2 separate regions of the Homo sapiens genome follow, and region 1 is linked to region 2. The links are contacts of gene promoters, found by promoter capture Hi-C in human tissues and cell types (Jung and others, 2019). All regions are on one chromosome and are shown on one strand. Each heading gives the region's core, a stretch centred on a gene start or on the middle of the fragment in contact. The rest is flanking DNA. Distances are from core to core; before and after follow the strand shown. Region 1 holds the start of SUGP2 (SURP and G-patch domain containing 2). Region 2 holds the start of COLGALT1 (collagen beta(1-O)galactosyltransferase 1).

What was found. Contacts are between HindIII fragments. The study calls those that stand out against the background at their distance.
Region 1: a contact is called between the fragment with the promoter of SUGP2 here and the fragment with the promoter of COLGALT1 in region 2, in 1 of the 25 tissues and cell types used here (lymphoblastoid cells).

The regions. Positions count from the first base shown.
Region 1 is chr19:19,031,838-19,036,847 of GRCh38, reverse strand. SUGP2 (SURP and G-patch domain containing 2) reads left to right here and starts at 3,331. Exons shown (of 11, transcript NM_001017392.5): 1 at 3,331-3,411. It overlaps ARMC6 (armadillo repeat containing 6), which reads right to left and starts at 3,245. Exons shown (of 9, transcript NM_001199196.2): 1 at 2,918-3,245; 2 at 2,610-2,717. The coding sequence starts at 2,638. RefSeq lists silencers at 3,242-3,671, 4,092-4,171 and an enhancer at 4,098-4,599. The HindIII fragment of the contact is 6,904 bases long and covers 1-5,010 here.
Region 2 is chr19:17,553,511-17,558,029 of GRCh38, reverse strand. It overlaps COLGALT1 (collagen beta(1-O)galactosyltransferase 1), which reads right to left and starts at 2,381. Exons shown (of 12, transcript NM_024656.4): 1 at 2,057-2,381. The coding sequence starts at 2,316. NIBAN3 (niban apoptosis regulator 3) reads right to left here. Exons shown (of 15, transcript NM_001321827.2): 15 at 4,390-4,519. RefSeq lists a silencer at 2,214-2,303. The HindIII fragment of the contact is 12,267 bases long and covers 1-4,519 here.

The sequences.
Region 1 (5,010 bases), core at 2,082-4,581, 1.5 Mb before region 2:
TTCATAGGGCAGTAGTGAAAAATTCAGCCAACTCCTATACCTTCCTCAGAACAGGATATGGACAGGCTCAATAAATTAGCTATTTGTTCCTTTCCTTTGTTGCTTAAGAGGCAATTCAGCAAGTTTATGCAGGAGTCCCATCTCACTCTTTTGCAGATAGGCCCCTCTCCTTTCTGCCCCAGAAGAAAAGGGAGCTCTTTAAGGGCTGCTATGGATTTCCAAGGTTAAAGGTGAAGGAAGAGTAATATAAAGAGTTTCTCAGTAGGGAGTAAGGAGTAGGGGACTCCACTCCCACCACCCCGGCCAGGCCAGGAAATTCCTTGTGGCCCTCAAGATCTTTACCTGAAAACAATTTTGTTGAATGTCACCCTGGCAATGTAAATTGACAGGTGATCTTCACAAGTGCAGGACAGAAAGTCATCACCTGAGACAAATGCATATCCAGTTGCTCTCTCTGCCCTAACGTTTATGTAAAAATGCAGATTTGGCCTGGCTCCGTGGCTCATGCCTGTAATCCCAGCATTTTGGGAGGCTGACACCGGTGGATCACCTGAGGTCAGGAATTCGAGACCAGCCTGACCAACATGGCGAAACCCCGTCTCTACTAAAAATATAAAAATTAACTGGGCGTGGTAGTGGGCGCCTGTAATCCTAGCTACTCAGGAGGCTGAGGCAAGAGAATTGCTTGAACCCGGGAGGTGGAGGTTGCAGTGAGCCAAGATTGCGCCATTGCACTCCAGCCTGGGCGACAGAGCGAGACTCTATCTCAAAAAATAAAACAAAAAACAAGAAACAAAACCTCAGATTCATGAGTCGGACTGAGGCATAAATGACTATTCCTCTACCTGCCCTGTACCCCATATAAATCGTGTATTCTGTGAAAGGCTGACCAAAGACTCAAAAGAAAGCAATCATTTGTCTCTACCTGTGACCATCTTACACATATTCATTTATATCTCACGTCTCCCTAAAATGTATAAAAGCAAGCTGTGCCCCAACCACCTTGGGTACATGTTGTCAGGACCTCCTGAGGCTGTGTCACAGACATGTCCTTAACCTTGGCAAAATAAGCTTTCTAACTGATTGACACCTGTCTCAAATACTTCGGATTCTCAGTCCTCTGTGGAGCTTCTGCCAGCCCTTCCAGGTGGCTGCCTTTCCTGGCCACTCAGAGAGCCCACACTCTCTGGCTTCACTCCCCAACCCACAACCCCTCCCTTCCACCCACCCCTGAGCTGACTGAGTTGGGAAGGTCTGGCTCTGTGACCACCCCTGACCTGAGTCCTCCAAGGTCCCCTAGATCTGGTACAGGGCTGAGTTGGAGGAGGAAAGTACAGATTTGGAACACATAAGATGGTGCCTGGAGATGGCCAAGTAAGAATTACCTGGAGAACAGCCTAGGCTAAAAGGGGGAAGCAGCATTACCAGTCCCTATTATCCATCAGGGCATGCTGAGGGTAAAACAGAAGATGAGTAAGGCCCCTAACTGGCAGCCAGTTTCCTTCTCTCAGCCAGGAATCTGCTCATCAAGAAAACTGTGCTGTCCAGGTGCGGTGGCTCAGGCCTATAATCCCAGCGCTTTGGGAGTCTGAGGCGGGTAGATCACTTGAGGTCAGGAGTTTGAGAACAGCCTGGCCAACATAGCAAAATCCTGTCTCTACTGAAAATACAAAAAATTAGCCAGGGCCGGGCACGGTGGCTCACGCCTGTAATCCCAGCACTTTGGGAGGCCGAAGCGGGCGGATCATGAGGTCAGGAGATCAAGACCATCCTGGCTAACACGGTGAAACCCCGTCTCTACTAAAAAAATACAAAAAAACTAGCCGGGCGTGGTGGCGGGTGCCTGTATTTCCAGCTACTCGGGAGGCTGAGGCAGGAGAATGGCCTGAACCCAGGAGACGGAGCTTGCAGTGAGCTGAGATTGCGCCACTGCACTCCAGCCTGGGTGACAGAACGAGACTCCGTCTCAAAAAAAAAAAAAAAGGCCAGGCAAGATAGTGCACACCGGTAATCCCAGCTACTCAGGAGGCTGAGGCAGGAGATCGCTTGAACTCCTTTTGACTCCGTTTCAAAAAAAAAAAAAATACAAAATTTAGCCAGGTGCGGTGTTGCGCACCTGTAGTCCCAGCTACTCGGGAGGCTGAGGCAGGGGAAGCCCTTGAACCCGGGAGGTGGAGGTTGCAGTGAGTCAAGATCATGCCACTACACTCTAGCCTGGGCGACAGAGAAAGACTCCGTCTCAAAAGAAAATTAAACGTGTGCCATGACATGCTGGGGACTCTAAAAGACTCCATCCACATGTCCCTCTACCAGCCACACCCACTCTGGTTCAAACACCAGCCTCCCCTAAGGGCGGCGTCACCTGCCACTCCCAGAGCCTAGACTCCACCTCACTCACGTGCTCAAAGCCCGGTAGTGGCTTCCCAACCCTCTCAGAACAAAACCCAGCCTCCTTATCCGCACCTTCTCTATCTAAGCCTTCCAAGTTCCTCTTCCCCGCCTTTCTCATCCTTCCCAGCACTCAAGAGACAGCCTTCAAAACCACTTCTAGATAAAGAGCAGCCCTGCTTTCCCGTCCCATCACTCTGTTATTATTTGCACACCATTACCTGTATCTAGAGCAACATCGTTCACTCATTTATTTGTACCCTGTAGCCTCCTTGTCCCCACTGCCTAGGACGGGGCCCGACACGCAGCAGGCACTCAGTGCACAGGTGCTGAATGAATAAATAAAATGAATGAAAATAAAGCGAATGCCAGGGAAGCCGAGGATTTTGTCCCCAGGCGGCTTCTGTAAAATTCTTTCATTTTTTTTTTCCCCCCAAACCACGTACCCGAGGGTCGCGCCAGCCCGACCCTGCGGCACCCCCACTCCCCACTCCGCGCGGGACAGGCCTCGGCAGCCGCAGCGTCTCACCCGGTCTTCGCGGCCACGTGGGGAAAGGTGGGGCGCGCGGTTGTCACCCAGGGAGCCGCCTCTAGCCCCTTCCGGCCGCCGTACGCGCGCAGGCGCTGTGGCGCCCCTAGGCTTGGCCTCCCAGAGACTCGCGGACGCTCACGATAACCAAGGACGACCGCGAACCAAGGTAAAGCCAACGAGGCCACCTCGTGCGCGACGGAGGCGTCTTTGCCGCCCCTTCCGGGACGCTCACGGTGGTCGCCGCCCCCAGCAGGGAAATGTTTTGCCTCCAGAGCGTCCGCCCAGAAGAAGCGGACAGCGCGCTTGCGCAAGAGAGCCGGGCCGCGGCGGCCCGCGCCTGCGCACCAGGACTCGGCGGCGGCTTGCGCCTGCGCGGCGCGGCGCTGCGGAGACCGTTGGTTCATTTGCATGTCCCCGCCTCGCGCGGCGGCGGCGGCGGGTGAGGAGCCTGAGGCGGCGGCGGGGGTGGCTCCGCGCGCGGTGGTCTCGGGGTGAGGCCCGGGCCCTGGCGTCGTCGGTGGGTGGCTCCCGGGGTGGGAAGCTCGGGCTCGGCCTTGGGGGCCCGCCCCGGGCTCCGTGATGGCGTCGCAGGCTCGGCCCTCTGGCTGCGGCGGCGGCCGCGTCCCCGCCGGGTTGGCCTGGGTGGCCGGCTGCGGCCTCCCGGGCCCGGCGCCCCCATTTCCTCGCCCGCAGAGGCCGGGAGACGGCGGGCCGCGTCCACAAAGGCTCATTGGTTCAGTCGTTCATTCATTCCTCCCGAACTCGGAGCGGCCCCCGCTCGGGAGGAGATAACGGCGCCCAGCGCTGCATCGGGCCCTTGCCCTCTTTAGAACCGGTTCAGCCCCCACACCAGCCCCTTTACTGGCTGCCCATTCCATAGGTGGGGAAACGGAAGCACAGAAAGCTTAGAATCGTGTGATTTGAACCTGGGTCACCTGACCCGGGAACCCTGCCCTTTGCCAGCAGAGAACAAGGGGGCGCCCCGGGAAAAGGGCTGAAGGATGGGACTGGGGGAGGCGGGTGGGGGAGGCGGTGATCGTGATGGGAAATGGACCCTACGGGTTGTCTCTTGAAGTTGGAGGTTTTGCGAAGCGGGATATCTTGATGGTTAAGGATGCAGCCCCTGGACCCCAAAATGTTGCTTAATCTTTTTACTCATTCTTCGGGGCTTTGGATGCACGAATACCCTTTTTGCCAGGTTCAAATCTGGGCTGTCTGGTCTTGAATGGGTCGTTGAGTCTGTCTCCCTTTGCCTCCTCACCCTAATGTCATTCATAACAGGACCCGCCTCTTCAGTGGGTGGTTGGGAGATCGCGCAAGGACCCAGCGCAGAATGAACTGTCACTAGTTCATTGTCATTGGTTGGGGGTCCCGCCACTCACTGTCAAGAGGCTTCTTTTAGAAGGGAAGGAAGTTCTCAGAGCCTCTGTGCCCTGCTGAGTCTGTGAATGGGAAAAGAGTGATCCTGGGCCAGGCGCAGTGGCTCACGGCCTGGAATCCCAGCACTTTGGGAGGCCGAAGCGGGCGAATCACTTGAGGTCAGGAATTCAAGACCAGCCTGGCCAACATGGTGAAACTCCATCTCTACCTAAAATATAAAAATTAGTCGGATGCGGTGGCGGACTCCTGTAATCCCAGCTACTCAGGAGGCTGAGGCAGGAGAATTGCTTGAGTCCAGGAGGCGGAGGTTGCAGTTAGCCGAGATCATGCCACTGCACTCCAGCCTGGGCAACAGGGAGAGTCTCAAAAAAAGGAAGAAAAAAAAAAAAAAGATTGATCTCTTCTTTCCTAACCACGATTTGCGAGGGTTGTGGTCCCACCCTTCCTACTCTGTTATGCTCAGTTATGTGTGTTGGTTGACACCTTCCTCCAGCAGATAGAACTGCTTTCACAGAGCTGCTTTTAATGGATTCCAAGGAGATGGGCCCAGAGAAGGTTTGTCTTGCTCCTTTTCAGCCAGCACACACCTGTGAACTTCGTGAGGGCAGAGACCCCCTTAAAAGAGTCCAGACAAGGTGGGCAGATTGCTTGAGGTCAGGAGTTCGAGACCAGCCTGGCCAACCTAGCAAAACCCTGTCTCTACTTAAAAA
Region 2 (4,519 bases), core at 1,132-3,631:
GGAGGAGGAGGTTGCAGTGAGCCGAGATCGTGCCACTGCACTCCAGCCTCAGCAACGAGAGCGAGACTCAGTCTCAAAAAATAAATAAATAAAAAATATTAAAAAATGAAATGTATATATCAGAAACCAGCTGGGTGCAATGGCTCACGCCTGTAATCCCAATATGTTGGGAGGCCGAGGTGGGCAGGTCACTTGAGCTCGGGAGTTCGAGACCAGCCTGGCCAATAGGGCAAAACCCCATCTCTAGAAAAAATACAAAAATTAGCTGGGCGCAGTGGCATACGCCTGTAGTCCCAGTTACTCAAGAAGCTGAGGCAGGAGAATCACTTGAGCCCAGGAGGGGGAAGTTGCAGTGAGCTAGGATTGCACCACTGCACTCCCGCCTGGGCGACAGATGTAAAACCCTGTATCAAAAAAAAAAGTATATCTCAGCAGGGCGCTGTGGCTCATGCCTGTAATCCCAGCACTTAGGGAGGCCGAGGCAGGCAGATCATGAGGTCAGGAGATCAACACAAGCCTGGCCACAATGGTGAAACCCTGACTCTATTAAAAATACAAAAATTAGCCAGGCATGGTGGTGCGCACCTGTAATCCCAAGCTACTCGGGAGGCTGAGGCAGGAGAATCACTTGAACCCGGAGGCGGAGGTTGCAATGAGCTGAGATCGTGTCACTGTACTCCAGCCTGGGCGACAGAGCAAGATTCCGTCTGAGAGAAAAAAAAAAGTATATCTCAAAGTATATCTCATAAATCCCTTACCCTGCCTTCATCTTCTCCTGTGAGCCACACCACTTCAGTGGGCTGCAGTCAATTATTCATTCAACAAACATTTGTTAAGTACCAATTGTGTATTTGGATTATCCAGACTGAGAAATCAGGTGGAAGGAAAAGCGACATTTGGGAGTTTAGTTTGACCGTAGTGCCAAAAGCTAATTCTGCCCAATAAATTAAGTTGACAATAACACCAGCAATGACAGTAATCATGATAATAAAATCACTGAGAGCCAAGCCCATGCCAGACCCAAGGGCTCCACATCCATTAACTGGATAATCTTCAGAGACAAACCCAAAAAGAGAATTATATTAATACGCTCATTTTCTTTTCTTTTTCTTTTTTTAGAGGCAGGTCTTACTCTGTAGCCCAGGCTGGAGTGCAGTGGTGCAATCATAGGTCACTGCAGCCTCGAACTCCTGGGCTCAAGCGATTCTCCTGCGTCAGCCTCCTGAATAGCTGGGACTACAGGCACACACCACCGCACCTGGCTAATTTTTGTATTTTTTTTCTAGAGACGGGGTTTTGCCATGTTGGCAAGGCTGGTGTCGAACTCCTGAGCTCAAGTGACCCGCTTACCTTGGCCTCCCAAATTGCTAGGATTACTGCGTGAGCCACTGCACCCGGACCCATTTTCCATTTGAGAAAACTGAGGCAGGGAGTGAGAAGTCACCAGTCAAAGGTTTCTTCAGAGCTCTGCCCCATTCCCTACCAAGAAAGCATCCACTTCCTCCTGGGCCATCTGGTCCTGGACTCCACCCACGCCGGTCTGAGGGCAGGGGTTTGACTGGGGCCTGGAGCCAGGCTGAGTTCAAGCTTAAGGGCAGCAGCCGGCACAGAAAGGCTTGCTGTTAGATGTGGCCTCTGGCAACGCCCCAGTGGGGGCTCTGGGCTCCGTCCTTTGGAGGTGTACGTGCCCCAGAGGGAGTTAGAGCCCCAGTTAGTGAGGCCGGAGCTGCCCTAGTAGGGTCCAGCAGGCAGAAGCGGTGCCCAGCCCACCCCAAAGGAGCCAGCAGGAGGAACTCGGTCCCGCTTGTGTTGTGGGGAGGGCTGTGTCTGGCCCCATGGGAGGACAGCAGGCAGGGGGCACGCGTGGACCCGTCCCGATGGGGGCAGCGGGCAGGGGCATGCGTAGAACCGTCCCGATGGGGGTAGCGAGCAGGAAGCACGCGCGGACCCGCCCAGAAGAGGACAGCGGGCAGGGGCTCGCGTGGACCCACCCCTATGGGGACAGCAAGCAGGGGCTCGCGTGACCCGCCTGATGGGGACAGCGGGCTCGACTCACCATAGCGCCGTGCGCTCCCGCGGGTGCCGCAGCCGCTCGAGTGCGCCCAGCGTGGTGGGCAACGCGTGGGCCGCGTTTCGCGCCAACAGCGCGATGAGCACGCGCGGCGCCTGCAGGGGCGACTCCGGGCTCCAGCGCTCCTCGGGGAAGTAGGCGTCGGCGCCCGGCGGGGCCCCCGGCGGCAGTGGCGCCAGCAGCAGAAGCAGCAGCGCCAGGAGCGGCTGCCCGCGCCGCCGGCCCGCGCGTGGGGCCGCCGCCATCGCGCCACGCGTCTCCTTTAAGTCGTTTTTCTGCGGGAGGACTCTGGCCGCGCCTTAAAGGGGTCATAGGGGCCCCGCCCGGCCGCGCGCCTTAAAGGGGAGGAGCGCGCCGGGCGTGAAGTCCAGGCCCCGCCTCCAGACGCTCTCCGAGTCCCAAGGCCCGGAGTGACGTCACCTGCAGCCCTACCCAGGACGCCCCGCCCCCGCACCGATCTTAAAGGCACATAGCGCTCGGAGCGCGTGGAAGGGATGTTAGGGGTAGCGTTAGGGTTAGGAACCCGCGCTTCCTCCAGGCGCCTCCTACCACTGAGACCTCCGCCAGATGCGCCGCCCAATTTCCCCATGTATAAAACCCGGGCTGTGCCACCAGGCGGACTTGGCTACTTAGGACCTGGTTTGGGACCCAAGAGACCTTAGCCTCAGTTTCCTCTGCTGCAACGTGGGTTTTGCCATCCTGGTTTTGGATCTCACAGGGATGTCATTGAGGGTTGTGGAGAATAAAGGTCATGACGTCCACAGACCTGGCGTCACATTCAGTCCCCGCCTTGGGCTTGCTATATGTGAGCCTCAGTCTGTCCATCTATAAAATGAGATCATAGAGACCCTATAGGGTTGGCGTGAAAATAGAGCCAGGGCATGATAATGGACCGTTCTGGGCACAAGCTCTTCCAGAGACAAGGGCCATGTTTTCATGGAAACGCTGTCAAGGGATTGTTTTCCAATACTCTAGAGCCGCATTTTCAAATTGATTGACTTAGTATCACACTTTTTTTTTTTTTTTTTTGAGACGGAGTCTGGCTTTGTTGCCCGGGCTGGAGTGCAGTGGTGCAACATAGCAAGACCGTGCCTCTATTTTTAAAAACAATAAAAACTTTAAAAAATACATCTGAACATTATTATTATTATTATTATTATTTTCTTTTTTTTTTTTTTTGAGACAGCGTCTCACTCCATTGCCCCGGCTAGAGTACAGTGGCGCGATCTCGGCTCACTGCAACCTCCGCCTCCCGGGTTCAAGCGATTCTCCTGCTTCAGCCTCCTGAGTAGCTGGGACTACAGGCACGCGCCACCACGCCCGGCTAATTTTTGTTTATAGTAGAGATGGGGTTTCACCATATTGGCCAGGCTGGTCTCGAACTCCTGACCTCCTGATCCGCCCACCTCAGCCTCCCAAAGTGCTGGGATTACAGGCGTGAGCCACCGCGCCCAGCTTATTATTATTTTCACAGAGAGGGTCTTACTCTGTGGCTCAGGCTAGAGTGCAGTGGCATGATCACATGATCATGGCTCACTGCAGCCTCAACCTCCTGGGCTCAACTGATCCTCCTGCCTCAGCCTCCCAAGTAGCTGGGACTACAAGTGCACTCAACCACGCCCAGCTAATTTTTAAATTTTTTGTAGAGATGGAGTCTCGCTATGTTGCCCCGGCTGTTCTCAAACTCCTGGTCTCAAGTAATCCTCCCCCTTCAGCCTCCCAAACTGCTGGGATTACCAGTGAGCCATCATGCCCCGCTAAAACTTAATTTTTAAGAATGATACAGGCCAGGTGCAGTGGCTCACGCCTGTAATCCCAGCATTTTGGGAGGCTGAGGCAGGCGGATCACTTGAGGTCAGGAGTTCGAGACCAGCTTGGTCAATATGGTGAAGCCCCCATCTCTTCTAAAAACACAAAAAATTAGCCGGTCATGGTGGCGCTTCGCCTGTAATCCCAGCTACTACGGAGGCCGAGGCAGGAGAATCACTTGAACCCAGGAGGTGGAGGTTGCAGTGAGCCAAAATCGCACCACTGCATTCCAGCCTGGGTGACAGAGTGAGACACCGTCTCAAAAAAAAAAAAAAAAAGGTAAAAACAAATTTACACTCTGTGGACTTGATGAGGAAAGGTCTTTTCATATTAAGTAAGAAAAAGGAGGTGACAAGATACATCCCATCCCATCTGGAAGGATTTAGACCCAAGGGCAAACAATGTTTTTCTCAAAAGGGGCAGGATGACAAATTCTTGTAGCTGCAATTGTTCCAGAATTAACATCTACATCCCGTCCGGGGTAAAAGGAAGACAGCTAAAGAAGCCTATGAAGTGCAAATGTATTGAGCAAATGTATTTCGGAAGGTGGGGTTGGAGGGAAATAGGTGGAAAGGTCAGGAATATCTCATTGTCTTGGGGTAGGCCGAAAACTCCAGACAGAATGGGAGGAAACGGTCT